Regions from separate parts of the Homo sapiens genome. Here all the other regions are linked to region 4. The links are contacts of gene promoters, found by promoter capture Hi-C in blood cells and fetal thymus (Javierre and others, 2016). All regions are on one chromosome and are shown on one strand. Each heading gives the region's core, a stretch centred on a gene start or on the middle of the fragment in contact. The rest is flanking DNA. Distances are from core to core; before and after follow the strand shown. Region 1 has its middle 7.6 kb from the start of CCDC177. Region 2 has its middle 8.9 kb from the start of CCDC177. Region 3 has its middle 59 kb from the start of SNORD169. Region 4 holds the start of SLC10A1 (solute carrier family 10 member 1).

Region 1 (4,540 bases), core at 1,002-3,501, 210 kb after region 4:
GAGATATTACTATACCCATTTTATGGGGAACAAATGTCAGTTCAGAAAGTTTGAGTAACTCCCAGGATCACACAGCCAGGACCTGACAAGCTGGGATTTGACTTCAGGTCTGTGGACTCTGAAACTCATGATATTAACCATTAGGTTAGACACCTGATAGATATGGCCATTCAACAGGTTGAAAGTGGATCTCATCATCTTTGCTTCTCTTCCTCCTCCACTTCACACCTCAGCGAACAGCACAACCTGTCCTCCCCACACCTATCCAGTTGACCAAGCCAGACATCCAGGCAGGTTTGTTTTTGTTTTTGTCTTTGTCTTATGTTTGAGACAGAGTCTCACTCTGTCATCTAGGCTGGAGTGCAGTGGCACCATCTTGGCTCACTACAACCTCCACCTCCAGGGTTCAAGCAATTCTCCTGCCTCAGCCTCCCAAGTAGGTGGGGTTACAGGCACCCGCCACCACACCCGGCTAATTTTTTATATTTTTAGTAGAGAGGGTTTCACCATGTTGGCCAGGCTGCTCTCAAACTCCTGACCTCAAGTGATCCGCCCACCTCAGCCTCCCAAAGTGCTGGGATTACAGGCATGAGCCACTGTGCCTGTCTCACCCAGGAGTTTTGATACCACACCTAATCACTCACCAATTTTGTTGATTCTCTCTCATAAATTCACATTTTTTTCCTATGCTCTCTATCCTCACTGCTGCTGCCTTAGTTCAGGCCATGCCCATCTCTTGCCTGATTAGAGGGTCTCCCAGCAGTCCCTCTGCTTCCCAGCACATGTGTGATTATTTATTTATTTTTATTTATTTATTTATTTTTTGAGACGAAGTCTCACTCTGTCACTCGGGCTGGAGTACAGTGGCACGATCTTGGCTCACCGCAACCTCCGCCTCCCGGGTTCAAGCAATTTTCCTGCCTCAGCCTCCTGAGTAGCTGGGATTACAGGCACCTGCCACTATGCCCAGCTAATTTTTTGTATTTATGGTTCCACAGGCTGTACAGGAAGCATGATGCTGGCATCTCCTTGGCTTCTGGGGAGGCCTCAGGAAACTTACAATCATGGTGGAAGGCAAAGGGGAAGTAGGCACGTCTTACATGGCTGGAGCAGGCAGAAGAGAGGGAGCAGGGAGGTACTACACACTTTTAAACAACCAGCTCTCATGATCACTCATTTACTCACTATCACGAGAAACAGCACCAAGAGGATGATGCTAAACATTCATGAAAGACCATCCCCATGATCCAATCACCTCCCACTAGGCCTCACCTCCAACACTGGGGATTACAATTGACATGATATTTGGGCAGGGACACAGATCCAAACCATGTCATCCCTTTAAAGAAGTAATTAAGGCTGGATGTGGTGGCTTATGCCTCTAATCCCAGCACTTTGGGAGGCCAAGGGAGGATGGCTTGCAGCTAGGAGTTGGAGACCAGCCTGATCAACATAGCAATACCATCTCTAAAAAATAAAAAGTAACTAAGTTAAAGTACAGTCATCAGGGTGGGCCCTAATCCAATGTGACTACTATCCTTATAAGAAGAAATTAGGACACAGGAAACAGAGGGACAAATGTGAAGACATAGTGAGAAGGTGGCCATCTGCAAGCCACGGAGAGAGGCCCCAGAAGAAACCAAGCTGCTGACATCATCATCTTGGACTTCTCGCCTCCAGAACTGTGAGAAAATACATTTTCGTTGCTTCAGTCACCTAGTCTGGGGCATTTTGTTACAGCAGCCCTAGCAAACTAATACAATCAAGAAAGGAAATCAGACTCAGCAAGGCTGAGGGACCCACCTAGCGCTGTCTAGCTCCTTAGTAATGCATTCATCACATTCTGCCTGTGACCACTCTCTTATGTTGATTATCAGATAAAATAATGGATTTAACTCTTATTATTTAACTTCTTGAGTGTTTGGGTCTTATTGCTCCAACTGGCACTCAGGGTAAGGGGCCTTGTCTTCCCCTTCTCAGTATTTGCAGATATCCTAGCTGAGCTTGGTGCATCTTAACAATAACTTTTTGATGCATTTCTTGTTGTTGTTGTGTGGTTGATTGACACATTTGGATGGGTAAAAAGGAGCCTGATGGCTGGGCATGGTGGTTCATTCCTGTTATCCCAGCTGCTTGGGAGGCTAAGGTGGGAGGATTGCTTGATTCCAGGAGTTTGAGGCCAGCCTGGGCAACATAGCAAGAACTCATCTCAAAATAAAAGTAAAAATTAAATTTAAAAGGAGCCTGATGGTAAATTCCTGATCCCCAAGAGACACATACAAAGGTAAATTCCTGATCCCCAAGAGACACATATTCTGCCAGTGATCACACATATTCCCAGAAGTAGAATATGACTCATCTCTGAATGTCTAAATATATATATTGGGATGACTGGTCTGAGGCATCATGGAAGGCAATGGTGCATAATGTTCTAAATTAGAATTGTCCATTAAGAAGAAAAAGGAGGGGGGGCTAGGCACAATGCTCATGCCTATAATCCCAACACTTTGGGAGGCCAAGAGGGGAGGATTGCTTGAGCCCGAGAGTTTGAGACCAGCCTGGACAACATAGTGAGACCTCATCTCTACAAAAAATTAAAAAATTGGTGGGCATGGTGGTGCATGCCTTTAGTCCCAGCTATTGGGAGACTGAGGTGGGAGGATCACTTGAGCCGTGGGGGTTAAGGACATAGTGAGCCATGATCGTGCCACTGCACTCCAGCCTGGGCAATAGAGCAAGACTCTGTCTCAAAAAATAAAATTAAATTAAAATTAAGTTAAAATGTAAAAAGAAAGAAATACATCAGTGCGTGTGTGTGCGTGTGTGTGTGTGTGTGTGTGTGTGTGTGTGTGTGTGTGCGTGCATGTTGGCAGGCAGAGGCACGGGGGAGAGGCCAGTGGGAACAGTGGCTGTGATGCCAGTGTAGCCTCTCTGAAATGGAAGGGGCCTAAAGGGACTGAGCAGAGAAGTGGCTTATGCCAGAGGCAGATGGCCCAGCAGGAGAGGCAGAGACTGGAAACAAGCCTGGCTCCTGAGCACCAGCCTGTTCTTTCAAGCACAAGCATTTCACAGAGGAGATGCCCATGGGGCAGCACCCCTGGTTCCTGGTCATACTCAGGAAGGAGGACGCTTCTGCAATATCATACAAAAGGCTGGTGGATGGAATGAGGTGCAGCCCTTCACAGAGTGAGAGAAAAGCCCATTGGATTAATCATAAGGCTCCCTCTACATCTCCGCAGTGACGCAGCTTCACAGTTAAGGGCAGGCTGGGCCTCTCCTGTCCCACGAGACAGTTCTTAAACATGAGCATCACCTGCTTAAGAAGCCTAACTCTGAAGATTCACCAAAGCAGCTTAATGGCTCAGGGTACTTTAGGTAGTTTTATGGTACACAGAGTGGGCAAAGTAGCACTACTTAGATCTCATTTCCTCTCGATGCATCCAGCAGGAGGGCTACCACTTACTGGACCCTAAGCAATTGAGAGCAGAAACAGACAAGAACCTGTCCTGCAGCTTGCAAGTCCCTGCCACCTACACACCAAAATGTAACAGTGGTGGTCTTTCAGCAATGATTTTTCTACACGTGATTTTTTTTCCTTCCTTTTCCTGTACTTTTTCATTTCCTCTTTTGATGAACATATATTACTTCATTAAAGTATGAAATAAAACACTTTACTTTTAACAACTATTACCTTTTACCTGCTGGTTTGTGTCCTAAATTTCTTCTTAAGGCTTTAGTCTCAGAAATTGGGAATGGTTACACATTAAGCTGTATATAGTTCTGGGTCCAATCAAGATACAGAAACCACATAGCAATTTAAACAGAGAAGCCTAACACAAAGAGGTATGAAGCTAACGGTTCCCCAAGGCTGAAGGAGAGTATTCAAGGAAGGACAACTTGGAAGGAGAGTTCCCTCCTCAAGACTGGGGAGCTGGGTGCAGTGGCTCATGCCAGTTATCCCAGCATTTTGGGAGGCTGAGGCAGGAGGATCACCAGAGGCCAGGAGTTCAAGACCTTGTCTCTACAAAAAAAAAAAAAAAAGATTGGAGTTCAGACCTCCTTAGAGGAGGTATTGTTACAGCCCATTGGGTGACACAGAAGTCTGCCCAGGGCAGAGCCACTCCACAGCTGTTGAGCAAGCAGGAAATTATAGGTAAGCTGAGGCTGGTGGGAGGGAGCCAGAGTGCCACTACGGGTATGAGGCCTGGAACACCTGGTGTCCACCTCAGGAAGGCACTGGAAGGTGGTCACCAGGCCTGGGCCGGGGCTACAAGGTCACCAAGGGGCTGTTATGGAGATGCAACTGGAGCAGAGTACCACAGACGTTCCCACACAGCTGTACCACCACTAACCACACAGCAGGGGCAAGAAAAAGCAAATAGCACCGCACACAGGATTGGGAAGAGTAACCCCCTTCCTCCTGCAACATTGCCCTGGTTCCCCCTACTGGCAAGCCTTCATATTGGGCTCACTGTCAGGCAGAAAACGCTTACAGCAAACGCTTACAGCACATCACCCCAGAGAAGGTACTGTAGGGTGA
Region 2 (4,317 bases), core at 531-3,030, 230 kb after region 4:
TTTGGAAGCATGCAGACTGTGACTCTCCAATGAGGGTAGTAACCGGGATTTGCTAAAGGCAAAGACCCTGTAGGATAGTGAAGATATATGAGAATGCAGTCTGTGTTCAGACTATTCTGTAAAATCCATCACTTATCATTTCTTCACCTTTACAAAGTCCATTGAAATAGAGGTGACTCTAAATAAAGGGCTGTATCTTGTTTAGCATAGAATCCCCTACAGCCAATGGTTTTACATCTCACATATGGTAAGCACGTAGATACTGGATGGCGAGAAGGACAGAGGGATGGATGGACAAATGAATGGTGACCAGAGGAAATGTGTATAGACCAGCTAGGCAGGACTCCATTCATTCAACACATTTTCAGTGAGCCGCTGCTATGTGTCAGGCACTGCCCTTGGTGCTGGAGAAACAGCCTCTCCAATCATTGACCCTGGAGATCACGTATGTACAATGTCATGAGCAGACGACATCTTTGTTTCCATGTTGGGGGCTTAACAACCTTCTCACCTGAGTATCCATCTGCAGGCAGACCTGATGGTCCCTCAAGGCACTAACTTCAAACACTGTCAGCCTCCTAAGGACAAGTCATCCACCATTCAATCATCATTTAGTCACTGTTGCTCTCTTTCTTGGAGAAGCCTTGATTAATCAGGTCAAATTCATGCTATGCCCTTAATCAGCTTTAAATTTCAGTAAACAAAGAGATAAACTGAGAGAGAGAGATGAATCACCTTCAAGGGCATTACCTGTCATGCCTTTAAGAGAGGCAGCATAAATAATGATCTTCGACCTAGAGAACCGACCCTCAGGCTGTGCAGAGTCCTAATTCACCAAACGTCATTTGGTGCCAGCTCCTCATCTGACTGTTCTTACTGAGACAAGAAAGTCAAAATTGCAGGACCATTTCCAGTTTAAAAGTCTCAACAAAAAGAAATTTCTGGTTAATACTGAATCCATAAAGAGATTTAGTAAACCAGAATATCTCACTTCTTAAGCCTTCCAGGTAATTGAGCCCAAAGATTGCTATGTAGGCTTGCCTTTTCTCTGCTGTATGACCACATCTTCATCCAGTGAAACATTTGGCAGAGGAACATGAGGAAACTTGGTATTTCTTCACACAGCCTGCAAAGGGGCTTTCAGGGACCCAGAAGCAGAAAACTCTCAGTTCTGGAAATGTTGCTGAGGCCTCAGGTGTCTGGCATAGCACCTGAATATTACACCTCATCATATGCTTTGGTTATGTGTGTCTTTAGACAAGAGCAGTTCATCAGTTCATATGTGCTCTGTTACACAGAGCTCCCTGGCATCTCTCTCTACATGCATCTCCTCCCAACCCCATGGATCTTCCCAACAAGCCCCCAGCCCTTCACTACTATCCCTGGTGCTGCTTTGGTTTCCAATAGGTCAGGGCTGGGACAGAGGGTAGAGTTCTTGCCGTTTTCAATGCTGCCTCTCTTAAAGTCATGACAGGCAATACCCTTGAAGGTGATTCATCTCTCTCGCTCTGTCTCCCTCTGTCTCTGTCTCTCTTCCTCTATCTGTCTATCTTTTTACTGTAGCAGATGTTAGGATATGGAATGTGGGATGGTTTCTTTCAGAGAAACGCTGATAATGTGATCATTTGCAGTGTTATTACTTCCCAATTCATCAAATACAGTCATGTCTCAAATGAGCATAAAAACCTAGTCCAAAGTGATTTTTAAATTAGCTGTCATTTTGAAGTGTTCTTGCCTTTCTTCCTCTCCACTAGTACAATTTTTTGTTTGTTTGTTTTGGTTTGGTTTTGAGACAGTCTTGCTCTGTCGCCCAGGCTGAAGTGCAGCGGCACCATCTCGGCTCATTGCAACTTCCGCCTCCTGGATTCAAGCAATTCTCATGCCTCAGCCTCTCAAGTAGCTGGGATTACAGGTGCATGCCACCACACCTGGCTAAATTTGTATTTTTAGTAGAGATGGGGTTTCACCATGTTGGCCAGGCTGGGCTCAAACTCCTGGCCTCAAGTTATCCACCCACCACAGCCTCCCATAGTGCTGGGACTATGAGCCATGGCACCCAGCCCTCCATTAGTACAGTACTGATAGCATATTTTTGTGTCAGACACTTACACAGTTCACAGGACTTTCTTGTGAATGATCCATATCTTCTGTGTTTGAGCACACATGTGCAAGCGTGCATGCACATACACATGCGCACGCCCACCCTTACTGCTTCCAGCATCAGTGTTCTTGCAAAGGGAGGAACTATAGCCATCTTATTCTTCCAAGGAGAGCTAAGTTCTGGGAAGGCTGAGCTGCCCCTTGTAAGGTTCCATTGCTCCCACCTGCCTCCAGCCCCAAGGCTGCTTTAGGCTGTGGCTTGTGAGCATGGTGTCTGCATCTCCCAAATCCATCATCGAGCCTCATGTTGACGAAGGGTTTTCATGCTGCCACTACACTTCTCCTTCCCAGTGCATTCTCTCACTGGGTGTCAGAGATTTACTGGGAGATAGAATTTAGATACCAAAATGCCAGCATTCGGGAACATAGTATAACAAAATGACTGACGTCCATCAAATTCTGAAAATCTATTCCCTGTGGTTATCACAACTTAAGGCAAAGAGTTTGGCAAAGGAGCAAGTGTCTTGACTTATTCAAGCTATTCTCAACTTGTTCCTCTTGTCTTCTGTGAAATGGAGACAATAGATCCTATCTGGTAGGGAGCTGTTAAATCATTTAGTTCTTGGAAAGCAGTAGCACTTAATTTGTGGATACTGTTATCCTAAATTAGAGAAGATGGTAAAGGAAGGAATGGGGTAGATCGAGCTTAAGCCAGGTGGTCCTGGTGGACACCAGACTTGAATGGTAGCCCTTTTGGGGGTAGTCCTTGTTGCGTGGCAATCTTCCAACCATTCCAAATGAGGGGCTCTGGAAAAATGGTTCCCCTGGTAATAAGCAGTAGTCCTGGGGTTGTGGGGGCTGGGGGAGGTAGGGATTTACTTGTTTACCCATTTACCTTGTTTGGCAATAAAATTGACATCTGATAATAATTTTGGAAATTTTATTTTAAGACTTCTTAAATGATGGGTAAAATGACAGAATGCTTTAAAATTTGTGTATCTTTCTAGGGCAAAAGAGGGTGTGCTTCTGTCCTGGTGATGCCCAAATTCTATGATAGCATCTTCAGCAGGACCAAGTAGGAGAGGTTGTGGGAGAACCACTGTTCAGGGGGACTCTGGTACTACAGGGTGTGGTGGTACTTGGCAGGAATTCTGGACTATACAGCCATCTTCTGCTATGGCCACACAGGAATAAGGAAGAGGGTCTGGGACAAGCCTAACCTGGGAGAGTGCTGATGGGCTCACTGTAGGGGTAGTGTTGGAGCAGGAAGGATAGAGGTGGATATGCCTTAGCATCACTTCATCCTCAACTAATGACTTTCCTTGAGAAGCCTCACCAAATGTCCCCACTCTCCCTTCCTGGTCCTCTGGCCCTGTTGACAACTGCATGGAGCCTAGCTTCAGGCCTGGGTTTGTAAATGTCTGTTCTCCTCTTTGGACATACATCAATACACAGAGGTGCTAAACAGGTAGGCTGGCCCATCCTGGCTCTCACTGTGCATGGGGAAGTGAGGATGAAGAGTATGGCAAGCTTCTAGGCACTCTCCTACCTCATCAGCTTTCTTCCATCCTTGGATAACCTAGAGGGATGCCCTAGTGGACCTCAGAGTACTCCTGAATCCTCAGCAAAATTGTACAGTAGGCAGAGTGTGCTTCCTAGGAACATCTGCTTATTTCCAGAGAACCTGCAGGGTGAGCAAATGCATAGCAGAAAGGAACAATTTGCTAATGCTGGGATTGCAGGGGTAATGATAGCCAGTGTGTACTAAGCACTTACACTGTGCAGGCTACTATTTTAAGCACTTGATTCTCACAAGATTCTCTGTGCGGTAGGTACTGTTATTGTTTCCATTTTACAGATGATAAAATTGAGGCATAAACTTTAAGCAATTATATGCCCATAGTCACACAGCCAGTGTTGAGCAAAGTCAGCTTGGATTCCCTTAGTCTGGCTGTACAGCACATGCTTTTAACCAGTATGTTCTGTTGCTTCTTGGTAATCGGAATGATATTTTATAACCAAGGGGACCTCCTGGAGCATCCCAATGGCAGCCATTTGAATCACTGCCAGCAATATCTATGTGTAAGGCCTGCAGGGAGAAAGCTTAGATTTCACTGGAGCTTAGTGCCACCAGGTGGGTCCTGCTGGCACTAAGGATGGACTGAGGCTCACTGCCCAGAGACAAGACGAGGGACTCTTGTGCTGACCCTGAAGCTT
Region 3 (4,584 bases), core at 1,779-4,278, 240 kb before region 4:
TGGCTAATGTGAAGAATGCTGCATTGAACATGCATATATAGATACCTCTTCAAGATGCTGATTTCATTTCCTTTGAATATATTCCCAGAAATGGGATTGCATCATTCTTTCTTAAAAATCTGGAAAGGAGGTGCAGCCCAAGGTAAACTATTCTGGTACCTCAAATCTTTAGATTCCGATTTCTAATCTTAGTCCTTTCTGCTGTTTCTCAAGTTCTTTCTAGCTTCTACCTCAGCAAAAACACAACGGGAGTGGTAGTCATTCTGTCATGTTTACAAACTGCAAATTACATCAATGGGATTGCTTCTACAGTGCATGATAACTATTCTTTTTTTTTTTTTTTTCGCTATGATCATCACCTCTGGCTGAGTCCTCACTCAATCAATTTCTCCTTCCATGACTGTGGGACTGTGGGGCAGACATTAAAACCTGGTGGCCAGCAGACTTGATGTGTTTGATTCTTACAGTGCTTTTTCAAACCTGGAATAGTTCTCAGTGTTTTGAAACAGAAACATGTTGTGTAAAAATCTGGATTTTGGCTTCTCTGGCCACACTGGGTAGGCATTCCTGTGAGGCAACAAATCCAGTGGCACTACTAAGTGGCCACCCTATCTATGTACACAGCGTTTACTCTCTCAGTTTACCAGAGTTCCTACCCAATCCACATCTCTTATTCATGTGACCAGTCCAGTCCTGAAGCCATTTGTACACATGACACCTGCTATGGACCAAGGCTTGAGGTATTGCATTTTTGCCTTTGCATGTTGATGCTTGCCTCCAGCGTTCTGTGGGGTTTGAAGCCCAGCTCTACTATTTTTACCCGTTGTGGAATTTTAAGCAATTGACTGCCTCCCTGAGCTTCAGTGTCCCTAAACCCAAAATACAGTGTTGCAACGATTAAAGAAACCATTCTCAAGTCAATTGCCATAGGGTTTAGCACCTTCCATACACCCTAGAAATGTTAAACTTGAGTATTACGATTTGGAGAGATGGTCAAGGGACACCAGGACCTCCAAGTCATGTGAGCCTTTAGACACAGTGGAGAAGAGAGACAGACATGTTTGGTGTCAAAGAAAGGGTGACATAGAAGAGGCGGCAGGCCAAAGGAGTTCATTAATGCTAATAAGTAAGTCAGATAATGGTGGGCCTGAAGAAGGGAGTGAAGCTTTGTGAGAAGTTATGTCATCTGTCCAAGGCCATTCCACAAGTAAGTGGCAGAGCTGGGCTTAATATCTAGAGTGACCATTATCTTCACATGCACCTGCTAGGTAGGTAAGATAGTTATTATTTACTGTCAGGGTGGTGAAGAAGAAAGCACAAATCATAAGTAGAATAACTTGTCTGGTTTGCCCAGGACTTTCCTGGTTTTAGCACTGAAAGTCCTGTGTCCCAGGAAATCTCTCAGTCCTGGAAAATTGGGACAGTTTGTCACCCTAAAATATTGAGTCTTACAGAGCTAGTAAGAGATGGAATGTCTACATGCAAATTCTACTCTGTTGTGCTGCCATATTTTCCAGCCATTCCATATCCTGTTACTCTTAGCTAGCATCTCAGTTACATGAGGTTCTTTCCTTGGTAGGATAACCCAAACTTTCATTCCCACAAGATTTGAATTATTGGCATGTTGCTCAGTTTTCCGTTGACCAGTACTTTTGGGCAAGGGAGTATGAAAAGGTACATCAGATGAATTCCTACATTGCAAACCCAGTCCTTCATATTCTCATTATGCAACAGCAACCCTATTTCCCCCAGGTAATTAGGACATTCGTCTCACCAGTTCAATGAACCCAAAATGACTAGGAGGCAGTATCTACTTCTAATTCATCAGAACCAGAACTCTTCCTTGGTGCAAGCATTTCTCCATTGTCACTGGGACTTCCAAACCTGCTGAGACCAAAGCTATAGAAACAGAAAGTAAGATTCTTCATGTAGGTTATTAGGCATAATAATGAGAGGCATCACCCATCTCTACCCCTTAGTCTCCAGAACTATGATCCCATCTATGGATAGATTGCACTAGATATTGGCCCCCAATTACAGCATATACTGCATTCAGTATGATAGCATCTTAATATCACAAGGTATTATCTTCTACGTGATGCTGTAATTGAGCCTGAATCAGGTCATTCCACTTTTGGGTAATAGGAAAAGTGGTAAGACCAGTGACCCTGGTAAGACAATGTTGTGAAAGATATCACTGCAATGGATAAAACATTCAAAGTCCATAAATGGACATGCTAGCAGAAACACTATGGGCAAGAAAGGCAAATTCATACCCAGAATATGAGTCTATCCTCTGTGAAGAGACTGACTGCTACATTTTCTATAATGGCAATTGTCCAAGGAAATCAATCTGACACTGTATAACCTGCTGGCCTTCCTGGGAGATATTACCATGTCAATGGCTCATCCGTTGCTTCTGCTTTGAGCAGGTCATACACTCATCAGTGGCAGTAGCCAAATGGGCCTTGGTGAGAGGACAGCCAGGCTGTTGAGTCCAAGTACAGCCTCCATCCCTGTTGGCATGCCATTTTGTTCATGGATCCACTGAGCCAGCATCAGGGTGGCTAGGGAGAGGGGCCAACTAATATTAACGACAGCATGAGTCATATTGAGAACATCTACCACCATGGTTGCTCTCTGATAGGCATTTGTATGGGGCACTATATCTTCACACTATGGGGCCCATTCCATACATGGAATTCCTAAATTCCTAATTTTTCTTGCCACCAATTAGCTTCAAGTCCTCAATGAGCCAGTCACTCATCATCCACTGCATGAGTTGGTGTAGATCCATGATTCAGGCCCAAGTGGACAGTTCAATGTACTGCCTGAAGTTCTGTCCACTGGGAAAATTTCCATCCACCACAGTCTTTGAGGGTCTCCTGTGAGTAGGGCTATAGATGGCGCTGTCCACTTCTGGCTGGTGCTGGCATGCTGTGCAGAATTAGGTTCATGCTTTTTTCTCATTTATTCACTGGTCACAGGGAATTCCCCATGAAGTCAATGTGTGGTTGAGGGAAAGGCAGCAAAGCTGTTACCTGGAGTTACCACAGGAGTCAAAACTGCCTGTTTGTGCAGGTTACTGGTGCTTTCTTGACATGAATGGGCTGTTTTCCCTATATACATACCACTTCCATTTTATAATAAATATTTCTGAGCAAGTTCAATTTTATAATTTATTGGGAAAGGTACCCAGTTCTACATGGGTAGGTTAAGTCATATGTTATTTGGTGTTACTCCTTCCCTACTCATGTCCTGAAGAGTCCTAATGGGGTCCAGCATTTAATTAATGCTGCAACTTGGGCTTGGTCCATATCCCTGTGGTCCCTGCAGCTATAGGAGAGGAGGGACTCCTTTAAAGTTTCCTGGGAGGACTTCCAGTTCTCCCTGTGCATGTTAATAGCTTTTAATTTGTCTTTTCCCCCATGTATGTTCTCAAGAGTCATGCAAATAATCAGGTGATGTCATAATTTTTGAAAATACTGCAATTGCTCTAGGAACAAAGCATTAGAACCACTTGATCCCCCAGCATCTTGCCCTCCACTTTATTCTCTACCCCATTCAGTGATAATTTGAGTATTGATGATGCCACCCTTTACCATGAACTACCTGGGTCCCATTTGCCCTCATCAAGGAAGTTGTCCTTGAGCTGCTCATGACCAGCCCAAACCCAGAGTTCCACTTTATGAGTTTGCTTCCTCCTAGGCCCAAGTGGAAGGAGAGGAGAGGTTTCAGGAACTGAGAAGGAGAGAGAATCAGGTAGATAGGCCTCTTAGAGAGGAGTGATACCTTTCAGTCAAAAAACAAAGCCAGCCCAAGGCAACCTTACAGAGAATAACACCTGTCCTCCCTCCCCTCCCACTCTCCCATCTCCCACTGGACTCCTGGTCATCCAGAGAGCACAAGAACTCCATTGATGCCATGCATAAAAGTTAGTCCCCCAGGCAGAGCACGCAGCAGGTGAAGAAGGGGGAAGAATGGCTCCAGATGGGGTAGGCAGGAGATTTCTGCACACCATATAGAGTTGTTGCAATTATTTCATGAGATAACAGGCTTAGCAAAATGTCTGACATACAGTGAGAACTCCTGGGCAAAAACACCAAGGAGGCCCAGAGAGGTGAAGCCAATGGCTCAAGGTCACACAGCTAGTTCATAGCAAAACCAGGCTGAAGACTCCTGTAGTAGGTTCTCTGTCCACTGGCCCTGACTTTCCTGCCAGACCATGTGATTTTGCTGCTGATATTAATCTGTTCCTCCATTTTTAGCTTTCCTCCAGAAGTTACAACTCCATCATACAGCCCGCATCATAATGCTTTTTGCAATGGCATGTGCATCCCATCACTCTATCTCTACCTCATTTCACTGCCTTGTCAGGTATATTTCACTATACCTTTCCCTAAACAACTCATTTTTTAGAATCTGATACAGTGAACTACTCAACATCTCAGTAGACACACTTCTTTCCATCATTTAATGGAATTTTCCATCTATATATGCTGTATGCCTCTTTAAATGTATAGCAAAGTAATTGCTATTAAGAATGCTAAATTAGGAGTTGACAGAAGTGAATTCTAATTCTGG
Region 4 (4,527 bases), core at 1,095-3,594:
ATCACACAGCATGTGCTCAACAACTCTCAGGTATCATTAACATAACACAAAAAGATCTTCCTGTTTCCAAAATTGTATTAAATTAGAGTAGATTCTGAGGGGATATGGGGAAAAGAATGGAGGGTGTCAGGTTCCTGGAAGAGATTTTTCCATTCTCTGCAAAGTCACATTGCTAGGAACAGAGGGAATGGGAAGGAGTGGGAGGAGGGGCAGCCAGGGCAAGAAACTGTTTTCTCAAAGGGAAAAACTCACAGTAGGAGGTGGAAGGATTTTGGGTTCCTGAGAAGAGGTGAGGAGGAAGAGTTGATAGAGACTACGTGGTTTAGAATCCAGGTTACAAATGTGTTCATAGGAACTCTTCTTCTCTTTGGATGTGCACAATAGACACATGCCCAGACCCTGATCTTTAACAGATATTGGTCAATTCCTCCTCACCCTTTGGCATCAGGCAAATGTGTAAAAACCTAACGTCTCCCTTTGACTTCAAGGCCTCATGTACGGTTGCACAAGACATCTGTAGAGTGGCGTCCCTAGCATTGTGTAGTGCCCAACCTGAACAGGTGTACCTGGCAGCCCTGCATGGCCTCCACCCTCACGTGCTTCCATATTGCATTGTGTACCATCTGGCCATCTGTGGTCTTGTACAGACCATCAGGTCCCTGAGAACAGGAACATGAATTATATAGTTTTTTTTATTTATTTATTTTTATTTTTTTTGCCTCCCATGGTGCCTGGTACTCAGTTAGTGATCAATAATTCTCCCCTAGCAACTCTGTTCCCTTCTGATTAGCCCCAGGGAGAGGAAGCAGCCTCCTCTGAGACTCAACCCTACCCTGTGGGAACGCTCAGTCCAGGCATCACATCCAGTGCCCAGTCCTCTGCCTGCCCTCCCTTTGATACCAGCCCAACTCAAGCACCAGGAAATCATTAGCAGAGACTCTCAAAGGAAAAGAGGCTTCAAGTTCATGTCACCCAGGGCCACAGTATACGGCCCCGCAGGCTGCCCACCGCGCAAGCCCAGGGAGCAGCCTTTTCATGGATATGATGCAATATGTATGGATCCTGCCATCCAACCCTTATCCAAGCAGGATTCCAGAGGCCTCAAGGCCATTCTTGGAGAGCTCTCATTTTCAGGTGGTTCCTTGCACCAAGCCAAAATCTGTCCCCACCTCCACCCAACAGTGGTTCACACCCTGGTCCCTATTCTGCCCTCTGGAGTCCTACATACAAAGCCTAATCACCTGTTTCAGACCCCACCCAGGCCTCCTAGGTTCCAACCAAGCCAAGAAGCAATTGTGTTTCTGAAGGAGACCCCTCCTCCCTTGTCCCACCTCTGCAGTGGGGATAGATGGAAAGAGCAAGGCCTAGGATAACCTCACACACTAGGTGGCCCCGCCCCTGGCATGCCCACCTCTCTCTGCTTCTGCTCCACGCCCCAAGCCTGGCTCCCAGCCTGAAACACACAGGCCCAGTGCAAAAGTAAAGCAATCAGGAAGTCAGGAAGAAAAGACTGCATTCCTGCTTCCTTCTCAGCAAGTTTTGCAAGCAATGGGCCTCCTCGGGCACAAAGCAATCTCCACAGCCAGGGTTCTCTCAGGTTGCTTTTCGGGGAAAGAGCCTCCAAGCTTCCTGAGAGCCCACCCACCATCCCAGCTGGTTATTCCCTCTGATGGTAAGCATTCCAGGTAGTGTGGAGCAGCCACCACCAGTATTCCTCCCTGGGACTCATACAGTCCCAGTTTGGGGATAAAACAAACATTTCCCCAGAACAGGCAGGGAGGATACTGGCATCCTCTCAGCTCCCAGGAAAAGGGTCATGGACACATCCCCTCCTGGAGGCCAGTGACATTGCCTGTCCCACACCCCCTTGGACTATGCTACCTGTATCTAGGAACCAAAGGCAACACCCAGCTCCTTTCACTCTCATGGGTTCTGGGGACAAATGATAACCCACTGGACATGGGGAGGGCACCTTCCCCCAACCAAGAAACTAAGGAATCAAGAGCGGAGCTGGGAAAAGGAGCTGCAGGGAAGGAGATGGGCTGGACCTAGATTCAGGTGGGCCCTGGGCAGGTCCCCAGTAACTGAATGAATGCCCATGAGGCACACTCAGTGGAGGGCAAAGGGGAGAAATAAGCCCAGAAGCAGCAAAGTGACAAGGGAGGAGTACAAGTAGCACCCAGGAATCCAGCAGAGGTCAGGGAGCTTGGGAGAGCTAGGGCAGGCAGATAAGGTTCTGGGCTGTTCCTCTTTGGGGCGACAGCCAGAGAAATAGCTCAGATAGTTGCATAACCCTTCTATTTGCCCAGAGCTTTTGTCCAGAAACTCTCTGTCCTGAGAGGTGATTAAAGAAGGCATCCAGCAAGAACTGCACAAGAAACGGAGTCAGCCGGAGAACAAGGAGTGGTCTTCCACTGCCTCACAGGAGGATGGAGGCCCACAACGCGTCTGCCCCATTCAACTTCACCCTGCCACCCAACTTTGGCAAGCGCCCCACAGACCTGGCACTGAGCGTCATCCTGGTGTTCATGTTGTTCTTCATCATGCTCTCGCTGGGCTGCACCATGGAGTTCAGCAAGATCAAGGCTCACTTATGGAAGCCTAAAGGGCTGGCCATCGCCCTGGTGGCACAGTATGGCATCATGCCCCTCACGGCCTTTGTGCTGGGCAAGGTCTTCCGGCTGAAGAACATTGAGGCACTGGCCATCTTGGTCTGTGGCTGCTCACCTGGAGGGAACCTGTCCAATGTCTTCAGTCTGGCCATGAAGGGGGACATGAACCTCAGGTAGGCCTGGGGGTGAGGAGGGAACAGCCTGGGACAGGAGCTACATTAGATATGTCACAATTGAGGGGAAGAGCTGGGCTAAAGCCAGGAAAAGGAGTGAATGCAGGCTGGGTGGAGGCTAGGGCAGGGGAAGTCTGGCATTTATTGCCAAGAGCTTATGCTGGGATGGGGGCAGGAGTTGGGGTACGTCTGGTTTAGGCACCAAGCCAAAGGGACCATACTGGTCCAGGAAGCTCGTGGTGATCTCCTTGCTTCCAGAGGTGTCTCAAGGATTGTCTTAAAGGAGCACTGATTAAAGCCAAAGGAACCTCTGGAGAACTGCATCCACCTACAACAGTGGACAAGTTGCCTGCTTTGAGCCCAGAGATTTAAAAGGTAGTGTGATTCGTTCCAAACATCATCAGGGAGATCAAGGTGACTTGGAACCAAATGAGCACCTCAAATTCCTGCAAAGCGGGCAAGAATTTCCAAAAGGTCCTCCCAATTACCTGGTCATCTAAGATGTTTTCTCTTTAAAGTCCCTCATTCCCCATCAGATGCAATGACATTTCCATGCAAAGGCACAACCAGGGAGATCCTAGAGTTTCCCAGCACCCACTCCAGATAGGCCAGCCCCATCTCAGCCACCCTGATAAGGGGAAGACAGCAGCACCCCCTAACCCCCTGCCCAAAGCATTATAAGCAGAAATCAGCAAGGGCTCGCTCCTGGAGACGCAGCACACAGGGGCTGGTTGATGCTCATCCTTCCAAACTGGGGAGACTCTAGTCTTGAACATCTGCCAGAGGAGCTACTTCAGACCTGCTCCAGCTCCAGCAGCCTGTGCTGAAGCTAAAGAAAACTCACTAGCAGAAGCTCTTGCTTTCAGTGAAACCTCAGTCTCAAGCCAGTCCCCCCTGGTTTAGTCCTCCGTGGAGACGCTATTCAATGCCAGGTATAGCAGCAGAACCCAGAAAGTCCATCTGCTTGTGTCTGTCAGCACCCTACTCCTAGCCAAACTTTCCTAGGAAAACTAACCCAGTCAAGAAGCCCCTCCTAGTGATGCAAAATGACACTGGGACAGATTTTTTAAATGAAAAAAGTGAGAATGGCTGGGCACGGTGGCTCACACCTATAATCCCAGCACTTTGGGAGGCCAAGGCAGGAAGATCACTTGAGACCAGGAGTTTAAGACCAACCTGGGCAACATAGCAAAACCCTGTGTCTACAAATATATACATATATATTTAATTAGCCAGGCATAGTGGCACATGCCTGTAGTCCCAGCTACTTGGGAGGCTGAGATGAGAGGATCTTTGAGCCTACGAGTTCAAGGCTACAGTGAGTCATGATCACACCACTGCACTCCAGCCTGGGCAACAGAGTGAGACCCTGTCTCTCTCTCAAAAAAAAAAAAAAAAAGGAAATAAAAAAGTGAGAGTGAATGAGAGTTGGGGTTTAACAGGATCTGCCATCTGAGAAGCTCTGGGCTCTTTTTCCATATGATTCAGCCCTCACTTTAGTAGTCAATGGGAAGAGAGGCACAAAGAGGGCATTTGGCTTGTGCCATCACCCACGGAAAGGTATTTCAATGTTCAACTACCTCACTGTGAGAAAATGCTTTCCTCTGTCTAATCCACATCCTCTCTGCTACAAAGCAAGCCCTTGGTCTTGGATCTGGCTTCTGGACAAGGCTCATGGCAGCCTGTGTGTCCCAAGAATCCTAGAGTATATCTGAATTTTGGTGTATGAGGGATGCAGAAGT

The links. The method cuts DNA at HindIII sites, captures the fragments that hold promoters and counts their contacts. A CHiCAGO score of 5 or more calls a contact.
Region 1: a fragment that was not itself captured here is called in contact with the fragment with the promoter of SLC10A1 in region 4 in 4 of 17 cell types (M2 macrophages, neutrophils, erythroblasts and 1 more); the score reaches 6.3 in M2 macrophages.
Region 2: a fragment that was not itself captured here is called in contact with the fragment with the promoter of SLC10A1 in region 4 in 1 of 17 cell types (neutrophils); the score reaches 6.0 in neutrophils.
Region 3: a fragment that was not itself captured here is called in contact with the fragment with the promoter of SLC10A1 in region 4 in 1 of 17 cell types (endothelial precursors); the score reaches 6.2 in endothelial precursors.

What each region holds. Positions count from the first base shown.
Region 1 is chr14:69,580,235-69,584,774 of GRCh38, reverse strand. No RefSeq gene overlaps it. Among named protein-coding and RNA genes, the nearest start is that of CCDC177, 7.6 kb to the right of the region's middle. The HindIII fragment of the contact is 4,802 bases long and covers 1-4,540 here.
Region 2 is chr14:69,563,837-69,568,153 of GRCh38, reverse strand. No RefSeq gene overlaps it. Among named protein-coding and RNA genes, the nearest start is that of CCDC177, 8.9 kb to the left of the region's middle. The HindIII fragment of the contact is 3,704 bases long and covers 1-3,632 here.
Region 3 is chr14:70,035,207-70,039,790 of GRCh38, reverse strand. No RefSeq gene overlaps it. Among named protein-coding and RNA genes, the nearest start is that of SNORD169, 59 kb to the right of the region's middle. The HindIII fragment of the contact is 3,722 bases long and covers 1,168-4,584 here.
Region 4 is chr14:69,795,058-69,799,584 of GRCh38, reverse strand. SLC10A1 (solute carrier family 10 member 1) reads left to right here and starts at 2,344. Exons shown (of 5, transcript NM_003049.4): 1 at 2,344-2,785. The coding sequence starts at 2,430. The HindIII fragment of the contact is 9,870 bases long and covers 1,628-4,527 here.